Linked DNA regions of Homo sapiens: all the other regions are linked to region 7. The links are contacts of gene promoters, found by promoter capture Hi-C in blood cells and fetal thymus (Javierre and others, 2016). All regions are on one chromosome and are shown on one strand. The core of a region is centred on a gene start or on the middle of the fragment in contact, and the rest is flanking DNA. Distances in the headings are between cores, read along the strand shown.

What was found. The method cuts DNA at HindIII sites, captures the fragments that hold promoters and counts their contacts. A CHiCAGO score of 5 or more calls a contact.
Region 1: a contact is called between a fragment that was not itself captured here and the fragment with the promoter of MAP9-AS1 in region 7, in 2 of 17 cell types (naive CD4 T cells and total B cells). The highest score is 5.8, in naive CD4 T cells.
Region 2: a fragment that was not itself captured here is called in contact with the fragment with the promoter of MAP9-AS1 in region 7 in 13 of 17 cell types (total CD8 T cells, total CD4 T cells, naive CD8 T cells and 10 more); the score reaches 32.3 in total CD8 T cells.
Region 3: a fragment that was not itself captured here is called in contact with the fragment with the promoter of MAP9-AS1 in region 7 in 4 of 17 cell types (total CD8 T cells, naive CD4 T cells, total CD4 T cells and 1 more); the score reaches 7.1 in total CD8 T cells.
Region 4: a fragment that was not itself captured here is called in contact with the fragment with the promoter of MAP9-AS1 in region 7 in 3 of 17 cell types (total B cells, naive B cells and naive CD8 T cells); the score reaches 6.1 in total B cells.
Region 5: a fragment that was not itself captured here is called in contact with the fragment with the promoter of MAP9-AS1 in region 7 in 6 of 17 cell types (total CD8 T cells, total CD4 T cells, total B cells and 3 more); the score reaches 11.4 in total CD8 T cells.
Region 6: the fragment with the promoter of FGA here is called in contact with the fragment with the promoter of MAP9-AS1 in region 7 in 8 of 17 cell types (naive CD8 T cells, activated CD4 T cells, total CD8 T cells and 5 more); the score reaches 9.9 in naive CD8 T cells.

What each region holds. Positions count from the first base shown.
Region 1 is chr4:154,636,778-154,639,946 of GRCh38, reverse strand. All of the region lies in intron 2 of LOC124900169 (a long non-coding RNA gene), which reads right to left. Among named protein-coding and RNA genes, the nearest start is that of FGG, 26 kb to the right of the region's middle. The HindIII fragment of the contact is 402 bases long and covers 1,538-1,939 here.
Region 2 is chr4:154,551,349-154,554,327 of GRCh38, reverse strand. No RefSeq gene overlaps it. Among named protein-coding and RNA genes, the nearest start is that of PLRG1, 2.4 kb to the right of the region's middle. RefSeq lists an enhancer at 1,917-2,211. The HindIII fragment of the contact is 277 bases long and covers 1,401-1,677 here.
Region 3 is chr4:154,533,677-154,537,034 of GRCh38, reverse strand. It overlaps PLRG1 (pleiotropic regulator 1), which reads left to right. Exons shown (of 15, transcript NM_002669.4): 15 at 291-2,030. The coding sequence ends at 350. Among named protein-coding and RNA genes, the nearest start is that of PLRG1, 15 kb to the left of the region's middle. The HindIII fragment of the contact is 1,761 bases long and covers 409-2,169 here.
Region 4 is chr4:154,609,275-154,612,321 of GRCh38, reverse strand. FGG (fibrinogen gamma chain) reads left to right here. Exons shown (of 9, transcript NM_021870.3): 3 at 121-304; 4 at 424-517; 5 at 2,125-2,255; 6 at 2,559-2,692. Among named protein-coding and RNA genes, the nearest start is that of FGG, 1.9 kb to the left of the region's middle. The HindIII fragment of the contact is 537 bases long and covers 1,079-1,615 here.
Region 5 is chr4:154,571,473-154,574,691 of GRCh38, reverse strand. FGB (fibrinogen beta chain) reads right to left here. Exons shown (of 8, transcript NM_005141.5): 8 at 1,885-3,219. Among named protein-coding and RNA genes, the nearest start is that of FGB, 10 kb to the right of the region's middle. The HindIII fragment of the contact is 2,516 bases long and covers 315-2,830 here.
Region 6 is chr4:154,589,492-154,591,991 of GRCh38, reverse strand. FGA (fibrinogen alpha chain) reads left to right here and starts at 1,250. Exons shown (of 5, transcript NM_021871.4): 1 at 1,250-1,358; 2 at 2,430-2,500. The coding sequence starts at 1,305. The HindIII fragment of the contact is 3,315 bases long and covers 1-2,290 here.
Region 7 is chr4:155,352,329-155,355,720 of GRCh38, reverse strand. MAP9-AS1 (MAP9 antisense RNA 1) reads right to left here and starts at 1,505. Exons shown (of 3, transcript NR_125937.1): 1 at 1,348-1,505. MAP9 (microtubule associated protein 9) reads left to right here. Exons shown (of 14, transcript NM_001039580.2): 9 at 1-5; 10 at 561-650; 11 at 2,381-2,542; 12 at 2,664-2,809; 13 at 2,993-3,125. The HindIII fragment of the contact is 4,107 bases long and covers 1-3,011 here.

The DNA.
Region 1 (3,169 bases), core at 489-2,988, 720 kb after region 7:
AGAAAATCTAATCCTTAGAGTGGTCTCTGAGAGTGATTTGGGAGACAGGCCATATGGAATACAATAGAGAAACGAAAGTCAGAGATTAAAAATTCCTGATATTGTATACTAAGCAGGACTTTAATGATCACCTAATCCAGTAGTCCTTAACTTTTTAGGATGCATTATCACTTTGGGGGATCTGATCAAAACTATAGACCTTCTCCCTAGAGGGAAAACCCCCTTTTTTTTTAGCTTATAATTTCAGACATCTCAGAATCTCTGAAGCTCATCCTTGGACATCAATTTAAGAAACTTCATTTATAGATGAAGCAATTAAGGAGAGGAGAGACGAGTGATTCAACCAGGGTCATGCAGCTTGTTAGTGACAGAGGCAAGATGGAAACCCTGCTTTTCCTGCTCCTTGTCTGCTGTCATCTGCTGCATCAAGCTCTATATGGACTTAAATGTTCTACTAAACCACTTCTATCAACTGGCCAAAGAATGGTTACTAAGTGTCTATAATTAGAATTTATACCCACTAGTACTCTTTCTAATCAAATACAAAATCTTTTTCTCTGTGTGCATTCTCCTAAACCTATTCAGGTCCATGTGAACTCACTCTATCCTCCTAGCCTCCTCCCCCAGCACCACTACTTTCTTAAAACTCCCTCCTTCCAGGGTTCCTGTGATCATCCAGATTCTTCCCACTTCTTCCAGGGTTCACCTCCCTCCCCTCATGTGTGTGTGTGTTTTTAAGAGACAAAGTCTTGCTCTGTTACCCAGGCTGGAGTGCAGTGATGCAATCCTAGCTCAATGAAGCCTCAAACTCCTGGACTCAAGCGATCCTCCCGCCTCAGCCTCTCTAGCAGCTGGGACTATAGGCATGCACCATGGTTCCAGCTAAGTTTTGCATTTTTGGTAGAGAAGGTGTCTTGCTATGTTGCCCAGGCTAGTCTTGAACTCCTAGGCTCAAGCAATCAGCCTGCCTCCAACCCGCAAAGTGTTGGGATTACAGGCACGAGCCACCGCACCTGGTATCCTCTCCCATTTGTTATCTCCTTAGCTGCTACCATTTCTCCTCTCTCCAGGGGTTCCCTAAAGCTCAATCCTACTCTCCTTTATATCCATTCTCAACCTTCTTACTGTTACTTCTATTGAATAGAACTCCTGTGAAAATTGTCAGTACCCAAAACGGAGTCACTTATGTCAAACCCTAACAAAATGCAGTGGGAGGCCATGAAGGAAGGGCCCTCACACATGTGTGCCTGCACCAGGAACTGCCAGAAATGACTTCCTCAACTGGAAATTTCCAGTTAAGCCACTTCTATGAAAACTCTCTCCTACCAACAGCCAGTACCACCAATGAGCAAATGCCACTGCATGTAAAAAGACCTGTAGCCAGTGGTCTTTATTTCAAAACAGGTACATGGATATCTTTTTGCCTTTAAAAGCTTCCTTTTTTTCCCAACTCCCTCGGATACCCTTATGGTCCTCCATAGCAGGCATGTATTATGTATTATGTTGATTGCAGTTCCTTGCTATTCCCTAATAAGCTTGAGAATTAATCCCTGTTGCTCAATTTAGGTTGACACCATTCTCACCCTGTTTACAGAAATACTTCCCAATAATAGTTTCAACAGGTACCTTTATTGAATATAATTTCCTCCCCCTAACCTGTTCCTATTTCCACCCTCTCATCTATGAGGCACTGGTGACTTGAACACTGCTTGTGCCCTGTGATGTCCAGCTCTATATTTGGCACATACATACATAGCAAGAGCAGTATAAATGTGGATTAACTGACATGTGAGGGTTTCCTCACATCTCAGTGAAGATAGTATACAAATAGAAAAAAAAAAGTGAAAGATAGTATACAAATAGAAAATTTAGCAACAATTCTGGTGATTTTATAAGAAGTTTTGCAAATTTGACAAAATTTACTTTTTCAAATGAAGCTTTGCTTTCTTTTTTTGCAAGATAGTATAACTAGTTTTATTCTTTTTTCTGGGCAATTGACTTCTTAAAAGAAGATATACCTCCCCCTCCTGGATGATAACGGTATTTTAAAGACAGCCCTTCCAACTCTATGGTGCATTCTGAAATGTGTCATTAATAAAACTAAGTCGTACATAGCAACAACATCCAGACTGTTAATTATTCAAAGCTCCTCATGTAGATCTAAAACAACAGCACGTTCTAAGGAATTGATCCTTCTTAAGCAGAAGTACATTTTCAGTACTTCAAAAGGAGATATTCAGTAACACCATATGATATTCAGTACTCAATTACAAAAGACTTTCTTCATTAGCTCAATAAATCAAACCACTGTGATAATGAGGCCAGAGTCCTGGATTTGGTTCTAGTTTGGGAAGCTGCTTTGATTGGTTTCATAGCCTCAAGTTTCACACTAACTCCCGGGAGTCATCATAAAATGATTCGTCCTGAGTCACAGGATATCCAGAGTGCCAGAGAGCAAACAGTTCAGTTCTAACTTTCTCCAACTGGAAATCATCCCCCAAAATGCTGGGGCATTAAAAGTGGCTTTGTATTTCTAAAAATTCTTTCACATAATGGCAACCGCCTTCTTTCCTCAGAACCACAAGGCAACTAACAAAGCCCTTTTTTTTGAGACGGAGTCTCGCTGTGTCACCCAGGCTGGAGTGCAGTGGCGCGATCTTGGCTCACTGCAAGCTCCGCCTCCCGGGTTCCCGCCATTCTCCTGCCTCAGCCTCCCAAGTAGCTGGGACTAGAGGCCCCCGCCACCATGCCCAGCTAATTTTTTTTTTTTTTTTTTTGTATTTTTAGTAGAGACGGGGTTTCATCGTGGTAGCCAGGATGGTCTCGATCTCCTGACCTCATGATCCGCCCGCCTCAGCCTCCCAAAGTGCTGGGATTACAGGCGTGAGCCACCGCACCTGGCCAATAAAGCCCTTTTTTAAAAAAAAATTTTACTTTAAGCTCCAGGATCCATGTGCAGAACATGCAGGTTTGTCACATAGGTATACCTGTGCCATGGTGGTTTGCTGCACCTATTGACACGACCTCTAAGTTCCCTCTCCTTTTCCCCTACCCCACAACAGGCCCTGGTGTGTGTTGTTCCCCTCCGTGTCCATGTGTTCTCATTGTTCAACTCCCACCTATGAGCGAGAACATGCAGTGTTTGGTTTTCTGTTCCTGTGTTAGTTTG
Region 2 (2,979 bases), core at 290-2,789, 800 kb after region 7:
TACATGTTCAGTAGCTGCAACTCCAAATCAAAATTAAAGTCTCGGCTGGGCTCAGTGGTTCACACCTGTAATCCCAGCACTTTGAGAGGCTGAGACAGGTGGATCACCTAAGGTCGGGAGTGCGAGACTAGCCTGGCCAACATGGTAAAACCCCATGTCTACTAAAAATACAAGTAATTAGCCAGGCGTGGTGGTGCACACCTGTATTCCCAGCTACTCCGGAGGCTGAGGCAGGAGAATCATTTGAATCCAGGAGGCAGAGATTGCAGTGAGCTGAGATGGTGCCACTGCACTTCAACCTGGCCGGCAGAGCCAGACTCCGTCTCAAAAAAAATTAAGCTCTCAAAGCCACCTAAACCCATATTTAAGTGTACAATATAATAGCTTACTTATTCATTCATTCAATAAATATTGAAAACTTACCAGTTGCAAGTCAATTAGATTCTGACTGTGTGATAGTAAACATCATGCCATATTCACCCCATAAGTCTACTGGGAAATACAGATATTTAAACAAATATTACAACAAAACATTCAGCTAAGAAAGCTGGAACCAAGACATTGTTATTTCTTCTGTGGCAGTATAAACACCAAAAATATTTCTGTAAAATAAAAACATTTGTAAATGCCTGCAAATATTTGTAAGTACAAATTCTTATTTGTAAAGGTAAACAACAAAAGTCATGATTATGTTCAATATTGTCACTTATTTTGTGATATAGTGTTGTGGGTTGAACTGTGTCCCCCCAAATTCACATTATGAATTCCTAACCCCCAGTATCTAAGAATGTGACCTTATTTGGAAATAGGGTATTTTTGGATGGAATTAGTTAAGATGAAGCCATACTGGAGTAGGGTGGGCCTTTAATTCAATATGATTGATGTTCTTTAAGAAGGAGAAATTTGGCATAGGCATATGCACAGTGAGAACGAAATGTGAAGATGAAGGCAGACATGACAGTGATGCAGCAGAAGACAAGAAACGGCAAAGACTGCCAGAGAACTACTGGAAGTTAGGGGAGAGGCATAGAACACATTCTCTCTCACAGCCCTTAGAAGGAACCAACTTTGCCAACGCCTTTATTTCAAGCCTCTTGCCTCCAGAACTGTGAGACAATAAACATTTGTTGTCTAAGCCATCCAGTTTGTGGTACTTTGTTACATCAGCCCTAGCAAACTAATACACATGAGATGGGGCTTCATGTAGTAGAGGATGGTGAAATTGTGATAAGTAAGACCCGAGGACTCTCTCTCTCTCTCTCACACACACACATACACCTTGCTAAGATATTTATAACTGACAGTTTATAACTGATAGTACAATCTAATTATTCCCAAAGTCTTTCCAGGCATTAACAGGAAGAACAGCCCCTTCACTGTTCCTTATAGTCCCAGAAGCTTGTTTCAACTATGCTACAAGAAAGTATCTGCTAACACTACCTTAGTATTTAGGCAAATTCATAGCATTGTGCTAAACAATTAAAGACCAAAGTTTTGGAAGAAATGTCCAAGTATCATTTTTCACAGGTTTTGACCTCAGAAATTCAAATAAACAGTGATAACTCCCATGATTACTTCCTTTTGAATTAACGAACAATTTCAAATATGAAATTTAAGGGATGGACATACTGAGCCACACAACTCTAAAGAACATTGCATATAGTGTTTTTTAAAGCTTGTATATTTAACCCTCTAAGTTGAAACAGAAAAATAAATAGTAATATTTATTATTTTATAAGAATCAGAAAACACTTCCTATAAAAATATCATAAAAAGCTGATGAAAATGGCACTCAAATCTATACTCATATGACCTATCACTGTTCAAGAGCAAAGGACAATATTTGAAGGAGAATAAAAAGAGTTTCTGTATTGGTGAGTTTAAAAAATCTTGCCTAAAGAAGGAGGGCTTTCCTTAAAACTTGTATTCTTGGTTTTACACAGACATAATACTAATAATTTATATTAATAAGTTACTTGCCGTGTCTGCTTTAAGGACAGCCCTGAGGGCCCGTACAAAGAGCAGTGGTGACACCTGCTGTTCAAATAAGGCAGCTTCGGGTGTCAGCCAGGCCATGTGTGTATGACGGAGCCTTTCAGGAATCCAATTAAACTTGTGGATCCTTTCTCCAGAAAATAAAACATATTCCCATATAAATACAAAATTTTCCTACAATATACATAATTCATGAATCCCTGAACTAAATAATAGGGTCACTTGAGTTCTATATTTATCTAAAATATTGTAAACTTTCAAGGGGATGACATCATTCTATAAATTCACGACAGTGTTTTAAAAGGAGCAAATTCGAGGCAATTTACCTCAATCATTACCATGTTGTTATTGAGAAATTAAATTAATGTCTCCAGGATGATTAAATATGTAAAAAGTTAATAGATCCAACTAGACAATTAATATATTGCCATATATATTAGTCTTGCTTAGGTTTCTATGGTTTTATTGTCATTTCAAATCATGTTATTTTCTATAGTTATTATTAATAGGTGAGTATATTATTTAGTTCATCAAGTATATATTTTACAATTATGGTATTTTCTTGCAAGGAAATACCATCACCTGCCACCTTTACAGAAAAGCAATTCTTAGGCCAAACTCACAGTTAAATTCAGAGATGCTGTATCTTCAAGTAAAAACATGACCTTAAGGCAGGGCTCAGTGGCTCATGCCTGTAATCCTAGCACTTTGGGAGGCCGAGGCGGGCGGATCACCTGAGGTCAGGAGTTCAAGACCAGCCTGGCCAACATGGTGAAACGCTGTCTCTACTAAAAATACAAAAATTAGCCGGGCATGGTGGCGGGCGCCTGTAATCCCAGCTACTCCAGAGGCTGAGGCAGGAGAATAGCTTGAACCTGGGATGCTGAGGTTGCAGTGAGCCAAGATCGCGCCATGGCACTCCAGCCTGGGCGACAAGAGCGAAACTCTGTCTCAAACAAAAACCCATGACCTTAATGTTTTTAA
Region 3 (3,358 bases), core at 40-2,539, 820 kb after region 7:
AGATTGCTATGTAAATTAATTCGAGAATCATAAGCTTTGGTGTTAGTAGAATATCCAAGTAGAAATGTTATTTTAGATGGAAAACTACAAACTAAACATAATGAATCCATCCATCTGTTATTAGACTTGGATAATGCCAGAAGTTTATCAACTCTTCCTAAAACTGTCAAAGAACTAAGTGTATAAAGCCAATGAATAATGTTAGATACCTTATTTTTGTTAGAAAGGAAGCCTATTAGACATGAAGCAAACTAATAATACTTTATTTTAACTCACTTTTCTATTTTTAGACAGAAGAAACTCATCCAGTCAGCTGGAAACCAGAAATTATCAAGAGAAAGAGATTTTAATGAATGTGGAATTTTTTCTCTCTCTTTTTTTTTCTTTTTAATTAAAAAAAAAAAAGCTTGGCGTTCATGAGGATATCCAGTCATTTTGTGCTCTGGCTGGGAATATAAAGGAGAAATTCACTTGCTTCAATCATTGCTGCTTCATATTTTACAATAAACTGTCCCCTGTCCCCTACCCCTGTGTTTTTATTTCTAAAACAATTTGTGATACTAGGAAGATGCAGATATCAAGTAAATGCAGGTTTATTGAACATAACTATTCTAGATGTAATATTTTGACAGTCTTATTAGAAAACCCCCTTTTTTAAAAAAAATGTATGAAACCGATAATTAGGACATTTGAAGGAGCAGTAGTTTTTTTTTAGTCCTTTAAAAAATAACATCTGTGACTAATAATTTGAGATTAAAAGATTTGAAGTCTTAATTTATGTATGTTTATTCCAAAAACAGTTTTTGAGTGTATGTTCTACAAAGTTCTGCACTAGATACTGTTCAGGAAATAGACAAGTAAGATGTGTCTATCCTCTAAGACTTCCAGTTTGGTAGCTTAGTATAGAAATTCTGTAACAGAGGTGCAGGTGAAATGCTGGGGGAACAGAAGGGATAAGACCATTTATTTTTCTCAGGAAGGATTGTGGAAGACTTCATAGAGTAAGTGGCATTGGAGATTACCTTGAAGTGAAGGAAGACAAAGAAGGAAAAGAGATGAGGCATAAAGTGATGAAACCAGGCACAAGAAAGTGTGCGGTGTGTTCTGGGACAAAGAATGTTCTGCTACTGTCGAATAATGGGACTAAAGCTGGCTTGTTCTGGGGAAAGCTCATATAAGTATGGATTTTATTCCTCAACTAGTAGGATACCAATACTGGTATTGAAACTTGGGGAAAATAACTGGAGATACCAGTGCAGCTATTTAAAGCTGTAGCAAGGGCTGCAATCTTGCGGAGATTTTAAAGAGAAGTTTTAAAGTTTCTAATACTGATGCCTCTTTTTGGTAAATACAAGTTTTATAAATCCTGCCCTGGGATCCTGATTCCCCATTAATCAAGATTTGTCAGACTTCACCTTCTATAATTAGAAAACACAGTTATAAGAACAGTCAATTTTTTAAATTTTCCAAATTAAAAAATTGCACCATGATTTTGAACAAGCACTTCCAATTACATTACCCATCTTGTATGCCATAGGTGGGAGTATAATTGTCACAGCCTTTAGGAATGTAGTTTTCTGGGATTTATTGAAACTTTGAACCTTTTGGCCTACTAAGTTCATTCCTAGGAAACTGCCTAATGGGAATGATCTGACAAGTGTACACAAGCAAAGTCATTGCACCTTTGTTCTTTAATACTTAAAACTAGCCCAAATGCCCTGTCAGTAAGGGACTGGTTTAATAGATGGTACCTTTATGCAATTTGTTTCTAAGTATTCGTTAAGAGAGTGAGGAATGTCTGGATTATTAGGGCAAGATTTCTAAACTTGGGTAAAAAAAAAAGTTGTGCAAGCATTTTTGTGGACAACTTGATGCTCTAAAATATAAGTAACACCACATTACTAACAGTGGCTTTGTTAGGAAGCAGAATTATGGAAGAACTTTCATGGGTGGCTTTACATATTTCTATAATGTTTTAATTTTCTATAAGCATGTATTTCGTAAACTTAAATAAAGAAAAAAGAACACTACACTTGCATTCCTGAGAGATTCTGATATGCCTTCTAACAAGAAAAATCAGAGGTGGATGCTGTTCCATCTCTAAAGGCCAAGAAGAAATTACTAGTACAAGGAGATGAGAAAGCCCCTACCGACCTGTCTGGCAAAGCTTCAACTATTGTGTTCAAGTTAGGTATACGTATCAAATTCTGAAAAGCATTAAAAAAAAATCTCTTTCCCTGCTCCATGCTGCCCTGTATTACAGTGTTCTTGAATCCTCTGTTGCATTAATTCATATACCATAATGTGTTTGTGAACCCTATGAAAGATGCAGAATTTCATGCATGTGCCCTTTTACTTACCTGACAGACATCCAACCAGGGTTAAGCTCAAATCTTTTCCACTGCCCATTCCGTACAGCTTGAGTGTAGTCAAGCTATAAAATGTTACCAAAGAAAAACAGCTCCACTGACTGGACTCATTCTTGGTCTATAACCACATATCTCAAGTGGGCCATCAATAATGACCAAATACACATTTCCATAGTTAATGCCTTCTGCCTGCTGTTACAGAGGATGAGCAATCTGCCTCACAACAATTCCCTCTGTGCAGTTGTTGCCATACACTCTTGCCCACTCAAGGACCTTGCTCCCATGATTAAACTCTTTCTCTCCTGTACCATGAATTTCTTCCCTCTGCCCTAAATGAGTGTCATCAACAAATAGGTTGCAATACTGCTTCTTAGAAAAAAAAAACACTAAACCTATTGTTTCCCTCTAGGAATACACCCATTTCTCTACTCTTACAGCCAAACTCTTAGAGTTTTTGATAAACTTATTTCTATTTCCTCACTTTACATTTTTTCAACCAATTGCAAAAAAAAAAAATAATGAAAATGTGTTAAACATTTTTCTTTTGAAAAAAGGAATTGGTAAGTTAATAAGGAAAAATAATAAATACTGATTTTTTTGGTACAAAAATAGATAAAACTAGATAAGCCAATTAAACAGAAATATAAATAATAGAAACAAAGGGAGGAGGGAAGTAATAACTAAAAGAGCTCTGTCCAATTCCATGCCATTTGCCAAACAAAATGATTAAAGAAAAAAATAGCCTATGGCTATTTCAAAAGGATACAGAAAACATAAACAAATTAATTGCCATAAAAAAATGAAGTTGTCAAAGACAGCCACCTCTACCACCACTAACACATACATCACTAAACCTGAAGAACTTCAGAATTGAATCCTAACATAATTTAAATGCACTTGAAATTTTTCCTAGGACCTTGATAAACAAGGAAATCTTTTGTGTGTTTTTAAATGTTACTATAACAAAGACACCTAAATCCAATAAAGAA
Region 4 (3,047 bases), core at 98-2,597, 740 kb after region 7:
TCATAAATATCATCTGGCACTTGTAACTTTTTAAAAACATAGTCTAGGTTTTACCTATTTTTCTTAATAGATTTTAAGAGTAGCATCTGTCTACATTTTTAATCACTGTTATATTTTCAGGGTAGTTATTGTCCAACTACCTGTGGCATTGCAGATTTCCTGTCTACTTATCAAACCAAAGTAGACAAGGATCTACAGTCTTTGGAAGACATCTTACATCAAGTTGAAAACAAAACATCAGAAGTCAAACAGCTGATAAAAGCAATCCAACTCACTTATAATCCTGATGAATCATCAAAACCAAGTGAGAAAATAAAGACTACTGACCAAAAAATAATAATAATAATCTGTGAAGTTCTTTTGCTGTTGTTTTAGTTGTTCTATTTGCTTAAGGATTTTTATGTCTCTGATCCTATATTACAGATATGATAGACGCTGCTACTTTGAAGTCCAGGAAAATGTTAGAAGAAATTATGAAATATGAAGCATCGATTTTAACACATGACTCAAGTATTCGGTAAGGATTTTTGTTTTAATTTGCTCTGCAAGACTGATTTAGTTTTTATTTAATATTCTATACTTGAGTGAAAGTAATTTTTAATGTGTTTTCCCCATTTATAATATCCCAGTGACATTATGCCTGATTATGTTGAGCATAGTAGAGATAGAAGTTTTTAGTGCAATATAAATTATACTGGGTTATAATTGCTTATTAATAATCACATTGAAGAAAGATGTTCTAGATGTCTTCAAATGCTAGTTTGACCATATTTATCAAAAATTTTTTCCCCATCCCCCATTTATCTTACAACATAAAATCAATCTCATAGGAATTTGGGTGTTGAAAATAAAATCCTCTTTATAAAAATGCTGACAAATTGGTGGTTAAAAAAATTAGCAAGCAGAGGCATAGTAAGGATTTTGGCTCCTAAAGTAAATTATATTGAATGTGGAGCAGGAAGAAACATGTCTTGAGAGACTAAGTGTGGCAAATATTGCAAAGCTCATATTGATCATTGCAGAATGAACCTGCATAGTCTCTTCCCTTCATTTGGAAGTGAATGTCTCTGTTAAAGCTTCTCAGGGACTCATAAACTTTCTGAACATAAGGTCTCAGATACAGTTTTAATATTTTTCCCCAATTTTTTTTTCTGAATTTTTCTCAAAGCAGCTTGAGAAATTGAGATAAATAGTAGCTAGGGAGAAGTGGCCCAGGAAAGATTTCTCCTCTTTTTGCTATCAGAGGGCCCTTGTTATTATTGTTATTATTATTACTTGCATTATTATTGTCCATCATTGAAGTTGAAGGAGGTTATTGTACAGAAATTGCCTAAGACAAGGTAGAGGGAAAACGTGGACAAATAGTTTGTCTACCCTTTTTTACTTCAAAGAAAGAACGGTTTATGCATTGTAGACAGTTTTCTATCATTTTTGGATATTTGCAAGCCACCCTGTAAGTAACTACAAAAGGAGGGTTTTTACTTCCCCCAGTCCATTCCCAAAGCTATGTAACCAGAAGCATTAAAGAAGAAAGGGGAAGTATCTGTTGTTTTATTTTACATACAATAACGTTCCAGATCATGTCCCTGTGTAAGTTATATTTTAGATTGAAGCTTATATGTATAGCCTCAGTAGATCCACAAGTGAAAGGTATACTCCTTCAGCACATGTGAATTACTGAACTGAGCTTTTCCTGCTTCTAAAGCATCAGGGGGTGTTCCTATTAACCAGTCCCGCCACTCTTGCAGGTTGCTATCTGCTGTCCCTTATGCATAAAGTAAAAAGCAAAATGTCAATGACATTTGCTTATTGACAAGGACTTTGTTATTTGTGTTGGGAGTTGAGACAATATGCCCCATTCTAAGTAAAAAGATTCAGGTCCACATTGTATTCCTGTTTTAATTGATTTTTTGATTTGTTTTTCTTTTTCAAAAAGTTTATAATTTTAATTCATGTTAATTTAGTAATATAATTTTACATTTTCCTCAAGAATGGAATAATTTATCAGAAAGCACTTCTTAAGAAAATACTTAGCAGTTTCCAAAGAAAATATAAAATTACTCTTCTGAAAGGAATACTTATTTTTGTCTTCTTATTTTTGTTATCTTATGTTTCTGTTTGTAGATATTTGCAGGAAATATATAATTCAAATAATCAAAAGATTGTTAACCTGAAAGAGAAGGTAGCCCAGCTTGAAGCACAGTGCCAGGAACCTTGCAAAGACACGGTGCAAATCCATGATATCACTGGGAAAGGTAACTGATGAAGGTTATATTGGGATTAGGTTCATCAAAGTAAGTAATGTAAAGGAGAAAGTATGTACTGGAAAGTATAGGAATAGTTTAGAAAGTGGCTACCCATTAAGTCTAAGAATTTCAGTTGTCTAGACCTTTCTTGAATAGCTAAAAAAAACAGTTTAAAAGGAATGCTGATGTGAAAAGTAAGAAAATTATTCTTGGAAAATGAATAGTTTACTACATGTTAAAAGCTATTTTTCAAGGCTGGCACAGTCTTACCTGCATTTCAAACCACAGTAAAAGTCGATTCTCCTTCTCTAGATTGTCAAGACATTGCCAATAAGGGAGCTAAACAGAGCGGGCTTTACTTTATTAAACCTCTGAAAGCTAACCAGCAATTCTTAGTCTACTGTGAAATCGATGGGTCTGGAAATGGATGGACTGTGTTTCAGAAGGTAATTTTTTCCCCACCATGTGTATTTAATAAATTCCTACATTGTTTCTGCCATATGGCAGATACTTTTCTAAGCACCTTGTGAACCGTAGCTCATTTAATCCTTGCAATAGCCCTAAGAGGAAGGTACTTCTGTTACTCCTATTTACAGAAAAGGAAACTGAGGCACACAAGGTTAAATAACTTGCCCAAGACCACATAACTAATAAGCAACAGAGTCAGCATTTGAACCTAGGCAGTATAGTTTCAGAGTTTGTGACTTGACTCTATATTGTACTGGCACTGACTTTGTAGATTCATGGTGGCACATAATCATAGTACCACAGTGACAAATAAAAAGAAGGAAACTCTTTTGT
Region 5 (3,219 bases), core at 323-2,822, 780 kb after region 7:
TTTTGTATTTTTAGTAGAGACACTGTTTCGATTTCACCATGTTGTCCAGGATGGTCTCAATTTCCTGACCTCATGATTCACCCCCCTCGGCCTCCCAAAGTGCTGGGATTACAAGCGTCAGTAAGTTTAAATGATCAGCATACAGGATATTATGTGTGTAATGCTTAAACAGAAATGTGAGCTGAGCTACTGCAGCTGGTGATGTGTCATGTCACCCATATTTTTGCCCCATGGTGGGAATCTGTAGTCAGTTTAAAAACAATCCCTGAGTTAGCTGTTTCTCTTGGTTCATAAATAAAGAGGAACTAGAAGCTTATGTCCCAAGTGCATACATCCATTATAGTTTGTTGCAGACTTTCAGTCCTAATTGTATAATTATATATACATATATATAATTATATATGTGTATATATATATATGTATATATATATATAAATAAAATAGTTCTCATACCACAGTGTGGGATTAAAAACTTTCAACTAATCTTTCTATTATCATCTTAAAATCATGAGTTATACAATCTTGTTGTTACTGTTTTATATATTCTAAATAGGGGAAGCTACCTTTTTTATTATATTCAAAATTGTGCATGGGCAAAATCAGACACATAACATTTCTTACCAAATGACACCTTAAGAAAGTGCATTTCTTTTTTCGTTACTGTATTTTCGTTTGTTTTTACAAGTTTTATAGTAGAGCCAGGGTCTCACTATGTTGCCAAGCTGGCCTCTAACTCCTGGTCTGAAGCAATCTTCCCACCTCATCCCAGCAAAGTGCTGGGTTTGCAGATGGGAGCCACTGTGCCCAGCCAAGAAAGTGCATTTCTTTCTAGATAGACTTACATATTACCTGGGAGTGGTCTCTGTGTTTTTTCTATTTGTACATTAACTAAGAATTGACCATCAGATTATCTACTTTAGTGGTTTTTCTTCTATGGCATTACTTCAAGCTCTAGGGATTCATTTGATCCTCTGTGAACACGTAAGGAGTGAGCAAAGGTCTGATGACTGCAGTCTTCCCAACCCGCATTTTTCATTCAGTGAACTTTTGCGACTCTCAGTATTGCCCCAAAAGTTCCATATTCAAGAACTTTGCATGTTGAGTTTCTGTTTGTGGCTTTATTGGAAAATGGGTTCTACATTTAAAAAGAGGATGTTCGAGACTTTGAAAATCACTGGATTTAGCCATCCAGCATTCACAAATGCATGAAAATTAGCCATTCTGACAGGCTGATGTTTCTGGAATCAAAGCTGGATAAGCCTCAGGCATTCATTGTCAAAAAGTAATAAAATTTGCCCAAAGGTTTTAGAAAGTCTTCTCTGGGCGGTGACAGTTAAAGTGAGGTTTAAAAACAAATAGCAGTTTGTCAGATGGTGTTGGGAGGAAGACATTGCTGCAATGAGGGCATCATATAAAAGGACCTGAACATTGTGAATAATGTTGCAATGACCACAGATGCACAAATATTGCTTCCAGATCCTGATATCAGTTCTTTTGGATATATGCCTAAAAGTGAGATTGCTGGATCATATGATAATCAGAATTTTTTAAAAAATTTTTTAGGGGCCTCCACATTTCTTCCCATGGTAGCTGCACCGTTTTACATCCCCACAACAGTGCGAAAGGATACTGTGTGATTTCACTTATATGAGGTATCTGAAACAGTCAAAGTGGAAAATAGAATGGTAGTTGCCAGGGGATGGGAGGTAGGGGGAAATGGAGATAAAATTTCATTTTTAGTAGATGAATATGTTCTAGAGATCTACTGTACAACATAATGCCTAAAATTAATAATACAGTATTGTGCACTTAAAAATTTGTTGATAATATTTCATATTAAATGTTCTTACCATGAAAAACTAAAATAAATGAACACAAGGAAACTTTTGGAGGTGATGGATATATTTAATATCTTGACTGTGCCAGTGATATCATGGGTGTATGCATATTTCCAAAATCATGAAATCGTATATGTTAAACACTTTGTATGACAGATGCATCCGACAGCATTAACTCAAGCATACCCTGAGAATGACTGTATGGTCTAAGAAGAATATGTGTTCAGAGTCTAAGCTAAGGAATCCGGGAATGGCCAACCCAGAGAGATTCACTTCTTATCTGTGAAGGACACTTGAACTCCCTGCCTGTCCGTTGGAACTCAGGATGTGCAAGGAACCAAGGCCTTTTATTTTGGGTTAAATGGAGGTTGCTAAGTGGAGAGTGCTAAGTAGAAATGTTATATAAACTACATACTCTTTACAAATAGTAGCGGTCCTGTCCAGCCCACTGCCACTGGACCACATCTGTATTTAAGTCCTAAATAAACCCTATGTCCCATTCACTGGCTCTGGGTCTCTTCTTGGACAAGGCGCCATCCCTGTTGGAATCAATAGGGCTCCAGCATGACACATGTGCAGGATTTTTTAAATTATATCAATTATATCTCAATAAAGCTGTTGAAATTTTTAAAGGGCCTGACCTGTCCTGGAATGGGGAAAAACTTAATGTGACAAAAATGTAGGTTATAGTGAAGGGAACAGGAAATGGTACTGGGACCATTTTTACTCCAGCTAAAAAATTTGAATTTAAGAAATTTGGATATAGATAGGAAGGAGCTAATGTTAAGCAGGAAGTAAGTTGATAAGAGTTTTCTGTTAAATGTGATGGCAAAGCGGTAGGTGAGTATGGGCTCCAGTGGGACAGAACTTGTGGCAGAGAAACCAGGTCAAAAGTTAAAGTTGGATTTGGTGAGTAATTAAAGAGAGTAGTAGCATTTCCAAGACAGAAATTAATGAGCTTTGCTTACATGAAAAGATTAAGAGGATAAGCTTAAGAACAATAAGTACCATAAAAATGGGTGGCAATGATGATACATTAGGGGTGGAGGACCTAGGGTCATAAGGTTGCCCGTGGCGACTTGGAGTGAAGTGTTGAGATGATATGCCCATTTCATGGGGAGAAGTAGAAAGAACAGAAAAACCACTTTTACTTTAGTTCTGGTGTAACTATGAAGAAAAAAAAGCCTAATTGAGGACAAGAATAGACCTCGTTTCTATGGGCAACAGGCATATTCTGCTCCCTATTTCATTATTTCGCTTAAAAAACACTTGGTGAAGACTTGATGCAGATTGTCCTCTTGGAATCTCTGATCCTGATGTTTATTTAAGTGGCAGAGTGGTGGCTTTTCCATGGTATATAGTCAGATTCTTTTTTTTTTTT
Region 6 (2,500 bases), core at 1-2,500, 760 kb after region 7:
TATTTGTCTTTCTTTTCCGTTTTTTTTTTTTTTTTTGAGAAGGAGTCTCACTCTGTGGCCCAGGCTGGAGTGCAATGATGCAATCTCGGCTCACTGCAACCTCCTCCACCTCCCGCGTTCAAGTGATTCTCCCTGCCTCAGCCTCCTGAGTAGCTGGGATTACAGGTGCCTGTCACCACGACCAGCTAAGCAGTATTTGTCTGTCTATATCTGCTCATTTCACTTAGGATAATGCCCTCTAGGTTCATCAATGTTACTGCAAATGACAGAATTTCCTTCTTTTTCAAGGCTGAGTAATACTCCATTGTGTATATATATATATACACATTTTCTTTATCTACTCATCCATCAGTGGAAACAGGTTGTTTTCATATCTCGGCTATTGTCAATATAGCTACAATGAACATGGGAATGCAGGTGTCTCTTCAAGATCCTGATTTCATTTCCTTTGGAAATACACTCAGAAATGAGATTGCTAGCACAGAAACAGGAAATAAATGGTATTTTTCATGGCACTTTATGATCTCCCATAATTCACTGAGTATTTCCTATGTGACAGTCACTGTTCTGAGAGATTTACAAGAATTAACTCATTTATTCTTCATAAAAGCATGGGGTAGCTTATCAGCATCCTTATTTTATAAATGAGGAAACTGAAGTATAAAGAGGTAAAGTAACTTGTCCAAGAACATAGAGCAGGGAAGTGGTGCAGCTTGGATTATGAACCCAAGATGTTTTGTTCCTGGGGCTGCTGTCATCTTAATATTTTAAATAGAGAAAAGTAATATGTTCTAAATAAACTTATAGAAAGCCTTCAGGGCCAGCTTATCCCCAAAGTTATTTTTTTTATAAGCCAGATCACCCAACCCTAATTTCTGCATAAAGTGAAATATTGTTTGCTAAATCACTACTACTGGGGGCTACAGCTAGCTTACCTAAGCACCTTCTATATTCTTTCACGTTTAGAAATATGGATATACCCTCCTATGCTCCTCTTTTCATTCTCAAAGCCACCCTGTTCCTGGAATGTGAGATCTCCTAATTGTTGACTGGAGAATCAAATGCTACCTTTGCAACAGCTTATCGGAAGCAAACAAGCTGAGGGGAATTGAGCAAGAATTTCTGGGATACCAACAGCATAGGAGGAACAAAGGACGTAGAGGGAGGGTTGACTGTCTACACAGGACAAAGCCAATGATTAACCAAACCTCTTGCAGATTTAAATAGGATGGGAACTAGGAGTGGCAGCAATCCTTTCTTTCAGCTGGAGTGCTCCTCAGGAGCCAGCCCCACCCTTAGAAAAGATGTTTTCCATGAGGATCGTCTGCCTGGTCCTAAGTGTGGTGGGCACAGCATGGGTATGGCCCTTTTCATTTTTTCTTCTTGCTTTCTCTCTGGTGTTTATTCCACAAAGAGCCTGGAGGTCAGAGTCTACCTGCTCTATGTCCTGACACACTCTTAGCTTTATGACCCCAGGCCTGGGAGGAAATTTCCTGGGTGGGCTTGACACCTCAAGAATACAGGGTAATATGACACCAAGAGGAAGATCTTAGATGGATGAGAGTGTACAAACTCACAAGGGAAACTTTAGCATCTGTCATTCAGTCTTACCACATTTTGTTTTGTTTTGTTTTAAAAAGGGCAAGAATTATTTGCCATCCTTGTACCTATAAAGCCTTGGTGCATTATAATGCTAGTTAATGGAATAAAACATTTTATGGTAAGATTTGTTTTCTTTAGTTATTAATTTCTTGCTACTTGTCCATAATAAGCAGAACTTTTAGTGTTAGTACAGTTTTGCTGAAAGGTTATTGTTGTGTTTGTCAAGACAGAAGAAAAAGCAAACGAATTATCTTTGGAAATATCTTTGCAGTATCAGAAGAGATTAGTTAGTAAGGCAATACGCTTTTCCGCAGTAATGGTATTCTTTTAAATTATGAATCCATCTCTAAAGGTTACATAGAAACTTGAAGGAGAGAGGAACATTCAGTTAAGATAGTCTAGGTTTTTCTACTGAAGCAGCAATTACAGGAGAAAGAGCTCTACAGTAGTTTTCAACTTTCTGTCTGCAGTCATTAGTAAAAATGAAAAGGTAAAATTTAACTGATTTTATAGATTCAAATAATTTTCCTTTTAGGATGGATTCTTTAAAACTCCTAATATTTATCAAATGCTTATTTAAGTGTCACACACAGTTAAGAAATTTGTACACCTTGTCTCCTTTAATTCTCATAACAACTCCATAAAATGGGTCCTAGGATTTCCATTTGAAGATAAGAAACCTGAAGCTTGCCGAAGCCCTGTGTCTGCTCTCCTTAATCTCTGTGAGAGTGCCATCTCTTCCTGGGGACTTGTAGGCATGCCACTGTCTCCTCTTCTGGCTAACATTGCTGTTGCTCTCTTTTGTGTATGTGAATGAATCTTTAAAGACTGCAGATAGTGGTGAAGGTGACTTTCTAGCTGAAGGAGGAGGCGTGCGTGGCCCAAGGGTTGTGGAAAG
Region 7 (3,392 bases), core at 256-2,755:
ATCAGGTAAAAAAGGAAAATATTTTTAAGAGAAGAAGAATGATCACTTTCATAAGCCTACACTGTTTATAAAGAATAAAGTAATCCTGATAGAAAATGATGGTTTAATACTTAAATTTATTGAGAAAGAGTTTCCTTTTAATACATGAGTAATCATATTTTACTAAATTATTTGCTTCCACACTTTGCATAACTGACCATAGTTGTTTTTAAAGAAAGAATATGCCATTGCAATTTATAGAAATACAGCACAAGCCAAAACATTGTAAAGTCTATATATGTTTTCATTTTTTTCTTCTTGAAGTTTATATGAACAAAAGGAGTTATTATGAACAAAAAGTTATTAAATTTTTTCTTTCCTGAGATGTTGTTAGGCGTACATAGGAAAAAGATTGTATTAATTTATTCACAATTCTAAAAGTCTTTTTTTGTCTTTTTTAGAGTAGAATAGTATACTTTAGAAAATTGTACATGTGAATTTCAGAGAAAATGTTAATATAAAGAATTCTAATTCACTTAAGAAATTTTAAATATTATATGACCTTTTTCTTGTTCTTATAGGAGTGGTTAGAAAAGAAAAATGTGTATTTACATGAAATGCACAGAATAAAAAGAATTGAAAGTGAAAACTTAAGGATCCAAAATGAACAGGTATTCTGACATATAGAAGTAAAAATGTTTTGGATTTTTATTTCAGTAAAATATCCCTGAATATATAACTTTTCTAAATCAGCTTTTTAAATGGCAAAATAACTTGTATATTAAAGAAATGATTTCCGGTTTTACTTCTGTTTTACTTTATACATTTTAGTTTGATATAACTGTTTTACATGAAAACAGATTTTAATTTTGTATATGTATAGGATAGCTTTGTTCCTGCTGATTATGAAGTTATTATTGTTTATGAGCACCTAATTCACTTTTAAAAGTTGATTTCATTTAGAACTTAACCAAGAAGGCCAGGTACTGTGGCTCATGCCTGTAATCCCAGCACTTTGGGAGGCCAAGGCAGATGGGATTCCTTGAGGTCTGGAGTTCGACACCAGCCTGGGCAATGTGGTGAAACCCCATCTCTACTAAAAATACAAAAATTAGCCAGGGATGGTGGTGGGCACCTGTAATCCCAGCTACTCAGGAGGCTGAGGTGGCAGGATCACTTGAACCCGGGAGGCGGAGGTTGCAGTTAGCTGAGATCGTGCCACTGTACTCCAGCCTAGGTGACAGAGACTCTGTCTCAAAAAAAAAAAAAAAGGCACGACAAGATAAAGGATCATTAGACACTAGTTAGCCTTCAATTTTCCTCTTTTCTCTCTTGAATTTTATAAGTATCTTCAAGTCCAACCCCTACCTGAACTCTTGATCTGTATCCTTTCCCATTGAATGGAGGTGAACTTTTGTTCCTGTCTCTTCTGTACTGAGTCTCTTCCTCTAACTCCTGCTTGTAATACGCTCAGTTATTTCTTATCTTCTAAAGTCAAACTTCTGGACAAAAACTCCAGTGTGCTGTTCAATACTAAAAATAGATTTAGAAGAAAAATATTTTCCAAGGTGAACTGCACGATAATGCGTCAGTAGTGAAGGGAGCAGCCCTCCAGGGGGCGTGCCTGTCTATCTGTTAACCACGTTCATAGCAGTATGCTGCTGTGGTCAGTGCCATACCCCTTCTCATTTGATTTTCGTAGCTCTGTGAGGTAGATAGTACTTTGACCTCTAAATTATGTTACCCCAATATTAAGGTTTTATGTCATTTAATATTGAACAATAAAGCAAACATAGAATATTATGGGATTAGATTGAAGGAAGTAAAATAATAACATAACTTGCTATACAGTCTCCAACCTATTTTTCAGTCGAGCACATACTTTCAACATTTGGAATACATTTGTGCAGTAAGAACTTTATGTTTTGATACTATTCAAAATTAAGATTTAAACCAAAAATCTGCATCTTACTGCATGGCTTGGCCAATTTGCCTTACTCTAACTTACTTTATAAGCCCATAACTTTACTGATTTTTTTTTCAAATATTTTATTATGAAAATTTTACTATACCACTTAGCCTATTACAGTTTATTTTGATATAATTTGTTTAGTACACTTTCAAAAATAATAGTTGACATCTTTCTCATTAATAGGTCAATATGTGATAAATGTTTTTAGAAAAGGACGTTTTAAAACCAATGAATAATTCAGATAACATTCTTTGTAAATTATCTAAGCCATTCTAAATAAATTACCTACTTTGAAAGTTAATTTCTAAGTATAATGAATATCAGAGGACTAAAGATAAATGTATATGTGTATATTTATATCTAGCCATATTTGTGTCTATGTATATATACATATATATGTATATCACTCTATTATTTTTTCCACTGTAGAAAAAAGCTGCTAAAAGAGAAGAAGCATTAGCATCATTTGAGGCCTGGAAGGCTATGAAAGAAAAGGAAGCAAAGAAAATAGCTGCCAAAAAGAGGCTTGAAGAAAAAAACAAGAAGAAAACTGAAGAAGAAAATGCTGCAAGAAAAGGAGAAGCACTACAAGTATTCAGAACTTTGCACATCTTAATTATTTTAAAACATTTGAAATCCAAATTAATGATTAACCATATTTTTATTTATTTTCAAATATTCACAGTAAGAAAATTATTCTGAACTTTTTCAGGCTTTTGAAAAATGGAAAGAGAAAAAGATGGAATATCTTAAAGAGAAAAATAGAAAGGAGAGAGAATATGAAAGAGCAAAGAAACAGAAAGAGGAGGAAACTGTTGCCGAGAAAAAGAAAGATAATTTAACTGCTGTTGAGAAATGGTAATCCAAAATCATAAATATTTTGATATATTTTAAATTATAGTAACACTTCAGGATTTTATAAAATTTATTTACTTGAAATTTAGTAATGCATTTCAATTTCATTACTGTCAAAGATGTACTAGGGAATCTTTATTATGTATTTTCCTTTAACTCTCCAGTGTTTTATACTATGCTCTATAGGAATGAAAAAAAGGAAGCTTTTTTCAAGCAAAAGGAAAAAGAAAAAATAAATGAGAAAAGAAAGGAAGAACTGAAAAGAGCTGAGAAAAAAGATAAAGATAAACAAGCTATTAATGAATATGAAAAATGGCTGGTAGGTATTATTTGTCAATGCACTTTCGTCTTTTTCATGTACCTTTTGTGTCTTTTCTGTCCCTAATTCTAATTCTATTTGCTCCAGACCTACTGATCATTTCTACCTGGAATCTGCTTTGTTGAATTCAAGCTCTCCTCCTGCATATAGCATATTTTCTTTGACTTAGTCATTTCTATTAATGTTTCTACTATTCCCTCAAACACCCAGGCTGAAAACTTGTTATAATCTTCTTCCTTACCTGCATCCCCACATTTACCATTTACT